2 separate regions of the Homo sapiens genome follow, and region 1 is linked to region 2. Evidence: promoter capture Hi-C in human tissues and cell types (Jung and others, 2019). All regions are on one chromosome and are shown on one strand. The core of a region is centred on a gene start or on the middle of the fragment in contact, and the rest is flanking DNA. Distances in the headings are between cores, read along the strand shown.

Region 1 (2,959 bases), core at 195-2,694, 95 kb after region 2:
TTTTATTGGGTTGATATATATATATATATATATATATATATGGGGAAAAAAAAGGATAGAAAAAGTAGACATCAATCTTGAAAGCAACACATTAGACTGGGGTTCTAATGAGACCGGAGAATAGACAAGCACCAGGAAAATGCCGAGTGCTGTTAATTAGCTTGTGTTCCTATCTGAAGTCTCACTCATCATTTTGTTTATATATTTCCTCCTCTGACTCCTTTCCATGTATTAGGCCATGATCGGGTATGCTATAGAGCTAAACCAGTTTAAAAAAAATTAAGAAAAAATGATTTTAAAAAGTCTGTAACTGGGGCCTAGTGCAATTGCCCCAGGAGGCCCTCAACCTAACCAGAGTTTATGGCTTCACCCCCTTCCTTGCCCTTACCTCTATACATGAGGCTCTTATTGTACTGAACTAATTCTATTATTATTTGTTGTTTCTCTGCTTGTCTCTGAACTTGGATCTTCTAGCACTTGAGCAAGTATGGGCAATGCTTTATTCAACTTGTAATAATAATAATGGCTAACATTGAATGAACCCCTGATAAATCCCAGGCACCCTGCTGAGTGCTTCAGTGGCAGTGCCTTATTTAATCCTCACAATGACCCTGTGAGGTAGGTGTGCTGATTGTTCACACTTACAAAGGAGAAAACTAAATAATAATTGGAAAGGCAGTAACTTTTCTGATATTTCACAGCAGCTAAGTAATTTGTTCAAAGGCACAGAGATACTGAGTAGTAAAGCTGGATTCACACTCTTAATTTCTCTGACTCCAGATTCTAGGTCCTTAACCTTAGTACATATTATAGTTTCCTTGTCTAATGCAATATTTGTCACATATTAACTGCTCAATAAATGCCTCTTAGGTGGAAAAAAGACTGTATTTATTGAAACAGGCTTGTAATTGGAAGATAAAGATTTGGCTTACATTTATGCCTCTTTTAGCTCTTGCTACCTTTTGTTCATATCACCTTTCCAGACTCCATTTTCTTCATCTGTAAAATAAAGGGGAAAGGGTTCAATGAAGTCTAAGGTCTCTTTTAATCACTGGCTAATAAAACCAGAAGTGGTGACTAGAAAAATAGTTCAAAACTGCTAGCTGATGCGCTACAGTTATGGGGCAAATAGCTATTGCATTATTCCAGCTGATCTTCAGTTCAGCCATCGTGGTATAATTCCATTTAGATCCAATCTAGATACGTTTTTGCAGGGCCTCTATCATTTTTCAGAATGTTTGAAAAACAAAATACATTTAGGCTTCTAACCTTGAGTTTGGAAATCTGAAATATACATAAGATGATATGAACGAGCCTGACTTTGATTACCATAGAGTGGCATAGCTGGGGGCTGCAATGAAAAAACCTATAAAATTTAACTCGAGATGAACCATGACAGGCCTCCTTAATGCGCGGATGCTTTGGCTTTCGAGTGTATTCTTTCACTGTATTATACAAAATGTGGATAAAGTGATAAGTGGGTTTAAAAATGATTGTATAAGTGAAGTGCACCATCTCACTGTAAAGTATTTGGCCCCAGGGAGACCACAAATGTGATGCAGCCTCATTTCCTTTCTTTTAAGTGCTTCCTGGGGCTGCTCAGGGTTGCTTTGGATGGGTTGGTTGGTTTGTTGTTTGCTAAGCTAAGATCATATTAAGTCTTGATTTGTTTTTTTTGGAAAACTGTTATCCAAAGGGGAATTTTGGAGAAGCAGAAATAAAGGCAGAGAGATTAAGAGACAGGAAAAAGAGGAAGATGAGTGAGAGATGAGAGATTAATTCACGACCCTGTATAGATTATTCGAAACAGTTTAAAAGAACAGGAGAGTTATATTGGGGGGCCATTGGGCTTGCTTGAAGTCCAGTGGTTCGATAAAAATTAAAACACATGAGTTCATGAGTATGGTAGCCGCCTTCTCTCATAGTTATAGACCCCTGAGCACTGATGTCATTTCTCTCCTGGGCTTAGTGAAATTAATATGTGATACAGGTTTCTTTGCTCCCTGAATATGGTGGATTGCTCAAACCCAGCACACAGCAGTAACCACGGAGCTTCAAGAGCACCCTCTGAAAACCAAAGGAGGAGGCCAGAGTTGTGTCTAGTCATCTTAGCCTCCTCGCCTGTATCACTTGCCCTGCTTGTCCACTGGCTTAGTGGTTAGCCAGTGAGAAAACAACTTCAGCCTGCGTCAGCAGTCAGTCTTGCTAGTCTTTGAATATGGACCATCCTTGGAGGGGGTGCTCTGACTCACACAGAAATCTTTTTAATGTTTCTTTTTCATCATGAATCAGTTCTCATGAAGAAGATTTGAAGGAGAATTGAACAGAATCACATCAAACCTCCTGACAGCGTAAAATAAGAATGGCCTTCGGAGTCAGCCTTGCATCCTGCCTCTATCACTACTGACTATAGGACATCTGCCAAGTGCTTCTGCTTCTCTCTATGCTGCATCTGAAGATGGGAAAACACATTTTCTTTGCCCAGATCTTGGTAGAGGTGGCAACAATACATATAAAGTATAGTTCCAGGCAGATAGCACATGTTCAATATTTGGTAGGCATCATTATGATTTTGATTTGCAGTTGTTTTCTCTTGCTGGAAGGTAGTAAACTCATCTTCTAATATAAGGATGCCTTACATTGAATCTTCACATGTCAGAATCTTCTAATATAAAGATGCCTTACATTGACATCTTCACATGTCAGAATGACTCAGCAAGGGCATTTTCTTGAGGGATATGACCATAAACTTTCTGATTCAGGCATAAACATGCTAAAATCAGGGTTAACATGATGCTAGGAGTATACATACCTAGCAGGTTTTTAAAATTCATGTTTGATATAGGTTGAGCTTTCAATGTGTTCAGTCTGCAAATATTTTGGAGGCTTTTACTATTGTACTGTGATGTAGCAGAATGGGTTTATTAAAAGCTCACTTTCAAAGTTCTTGGTCTAATAT
Region 2 (3,119 bases), core at 39-2,538:
TTTGATAATCTATCTAAAACAAGCCACACTTAAAAAAAAAAAAAAAAAGAGTCTTCTTTCCTTCTTCTTATAAAAGTCCAGCGCGTTTCAAAGTCCTTTTAATTGTCAGGCCCAGAGAGACATTAGAATGAGACCACAATCATGCCCTACTCCTTCCTTTAAACTATATATTCATTTCTTAAAACTACATACTATTACTACAAATAGCTATAAATTAACCTAATAATACCACATCAAACAGTATAACCCACATCCTATGACTTAACTATATATAACTAATCACTAATCGACATTATTTCAATAAATCAGTATAAATTCCTAACAATGTTACATCAGTCCACTCCCCATCCCCCTTTTTTTTGCCTTTAAGAATCCACTTATAACTACTACTAATCAAAATATATATTCAAAACAACTTAAATCTATACTCCTGAGTTGCAATCCTCACACTTGGCCCAAATAAACTCTTACTTATATTAATTTCGCCTCACCTTCTTCCTTTTTAAGTCGACACTCCTTTCCCTGATACTTACCAGAAGGCAATTCCTTGGGCTCAGATTAAAACTGACAAAAATAGGAGCCATTCGAAATGAGGGAGCTTCTGAAAAGTTTGGGGATTCCGGAGTGTTCAGGACAACAGAATAGGGAATTCGAAAAAAAAAGAAAGCAAAAATAAAAATCGATTATACAAGCCTTAATGCACCCATGATTGTTATTCCCCACTTCTTTATTTATATGAATGAAGTTAGCATAGTTGCAGCAATGGAGTAACTCCATTATTATTTTTTCCCACTACGCATTTATTTTAAGTCTTTCTTTTTCTCAGGATGTTTTCCTGAGTGATGTCTGATCTAATGGGAAAAAGTGGAAGTAGGAGAGGCAGGACTTTAGAAGGGCTCAAAGTAGATGAACAAAACGGAGGTCTCCTGGAAGCAGGTGACTGAGTTAGGCAACCGAGATGCCCACATATCTGTGCGGCGTTCGCCCCAAGAGGCCAGCCGGCTCCGCTCAGCTCCCCGCGGCGTGGCCGCATCCCCGCCGCCCGACTCCCAGCCCGCTTCCTCTCTCCGCGAGCGGGGGGGGGAGCTGCAGGCGGGGCCCGAAGCGCCCCGGGGGCACGTGGAGCGGCCTCTGGCTCACCTGCGCCTCCCGGGCCCCAGCCCAGCGCCGCCGCGTCACCGCCCCTCCCGCGGCCCCGCCCCAGCCCGGCTCATTGGCTGCCGCTCGGAGGGGAGGGGAAGGGGCGGCTGCGGGGGTCTCATTAGCGATGCGGACTCTCGCCTCCGCTCCGTAGTTCGGGGCCCGGCAGCGGCGCGAGGGCTGGGAACTGCGCGGCGGGGACTGCGGGCGACTCCGGCATCCGCGCTGGCGGCAGCGGTCGCCGCGCCGTGGGAAGCTATGGGGACGCGCCCTTTCTCGGGGTGCCCATTCAGCGGCGGCTCGGAGCTCCCTGCCCCGCTGCTTTAGGAAGCGATCGTGGAGCAGAGTCACTCTCTGAAGACTCCCGAGACCCATTCGACTCGGGACCCTCATCGCCGACCCTTTCCCGGGCTCCCGGAGCGTGAAGAAGAGCCGCCCTCCGGAACGCGGCGAGGAGCATGGGGAGAGCGGCGGCCACCGCAGGCGGCGGCGGAGGGGCGCGCCGCTGGCTCCCGTGGCTGGGGCTGTGCTTCTGGGCGGCAGGGACCGCGGCTGCCCGAGGTAAGCGCTGGGCGGAGCGGGCAGCTGGGGGCGAGGGCGCAGGGGCGCCAGCCTGACGGAGCGGGACCTGCACCGATGGCGTTGGCTTCCCAACTTGCGCCCTGCACCTCGGCGCTCCAAGCCCAACCGGATGGGAGCCGAGTGGAGGACTCCGAGGGGACCACAGCCTTCCAACCCAAGTTTGCGATCTGCCGCAATCCTACAGGTGGCTGTGACCCGGGCCCCTACCGTTTTCCTGGACCCTCCTTGCCTGCTCCATTTTCCAAGCCCTCCCCAATTGCTGCAGACTGGAGTAGCCCGGTCTTCACTCCAATCTCGCTCTCCCCTCTCCTCTCCACTTCCTCTCAAGCCGAGCTTGGTCATGAGTTAGCGCCCATAGCGATGTCGGAGAGTTCCTGGGGAGAGGGGCCAGGTGATGGGAGTGTCTGTAGGGTGGGCTTGAACAGAGAGGGTGTCTTTTCCCTTAGGGGAGGAACACCCATGCTGAAGTCCCTTCGCTCTGCGCCTAGCTTGGCACCCCTCGGGCGTCCTTAGCCCGAGGTCCCAGCCAGCCCTGGAGCTCGGGAGAGCGGCGTGCACCATCCCAGTTTAACCGCGCCTGCAGTGCCCAGCCGGGATGAGCACTTGGCCCGAGGCTGCTCACCAGGCGCCTCCTCTCCCTTCCCGGCGCCTACTCTGGCTTGGAAGCGCGGGCCCCACCGAGCCGCAGGGAAACCTCTGCTTCTTTCCGACTTAGAAGCCTAGACCCCATTTTCTTGGATCCTCTGGACTCCAGCAGAGGGAAATTTCGCAACTGGTTTCAGCTCCACCTTGAGCGAGGACAGGCAGCATCAAGTTAAAGATAAATCCCAAGGAGTTGTTTTGAAGATGATCAGAGGCAGTTTCAGACACAGCTCAAGTACCGGAGCTTTACCTTTGAAAAAAATCGGAAGCTTTGCCTTCCCGCCCTTCTTTCCCTTTTTCCTTCTCTGTGTTCCATCCATCAGGCTTAGAATATGTGATACCGTTAAATGATTTGCCTTACACTTGCCAGGGGAGAGGTGGAGCTGAGCTGACCACTTCACCTGCTCTGTTCGGTCTCCTGAACATGCTCCGACCAGCCTGGAGAGTGAAAGGGTGGAAAGGGTTGAGGACGATCACAAAAGAACCAATGTTATCTCATTTTTATAAAAGCTTATGGCGTGTTAAAAGCAGTCCGGCTGCCTAGAAAGATTTTCTTTTTAAGAGGTTGATAGAGGCTCTCCATTGTATGATCCTATTCTTTGCCCATTTGCATTTCATTTCCTGAAAAGTTTTTTTTTTTTTTTTTTTTTTTTTTTAATGGAGCGGGCTTTGTAAGAAGCAGGGGAGGTTTAAAAATGAGCGTCGGTGATTGTACACCCTGGGTTATGATGAACCACAGTTCCTTCTCGTACTGG

What was found. The method cuts DNA at HindIII sites, captures the fragments that hold promoters and counts their contacts. A contact is called where the count stands out against the background at its distance.
Region 1: a fragment that was not itself captured here is called in contact with the fragment with the promoter of UNC5D in region 2 in 2 of the 25 tissues and cell types used here (dorsolateral prefrontal cortex and spleen).

What each region holds. Positions count from the first base shown.
Region 1 is chr8:35,329,388-35,332,346 of GRCh38, forward strand. The region is part of intron 1 of UNC5D (unc-5 netrin receptor D); the gene reads left to right. Among named protein-coding and RNA genes, the nearest start is that of UNC5D, 95 kb to the left of the region's middle. The HindIII fragment of the contact is 4,750 bases long and covers 1-2,959 here.
Region 2 is chr8:35,234,187-35,237,305 of GRCh38, forward strand. UNC5D (unc-5 netrin receptor D) reads left to right here and starts at 1,289. Exons shown (of 17, transcript NM_080872.4): 1 at 1,289-1,701. The coding sequence starts at 1,599. The HindIII fragment of the contact is 15,361 bases long and covers 1-3,119 here.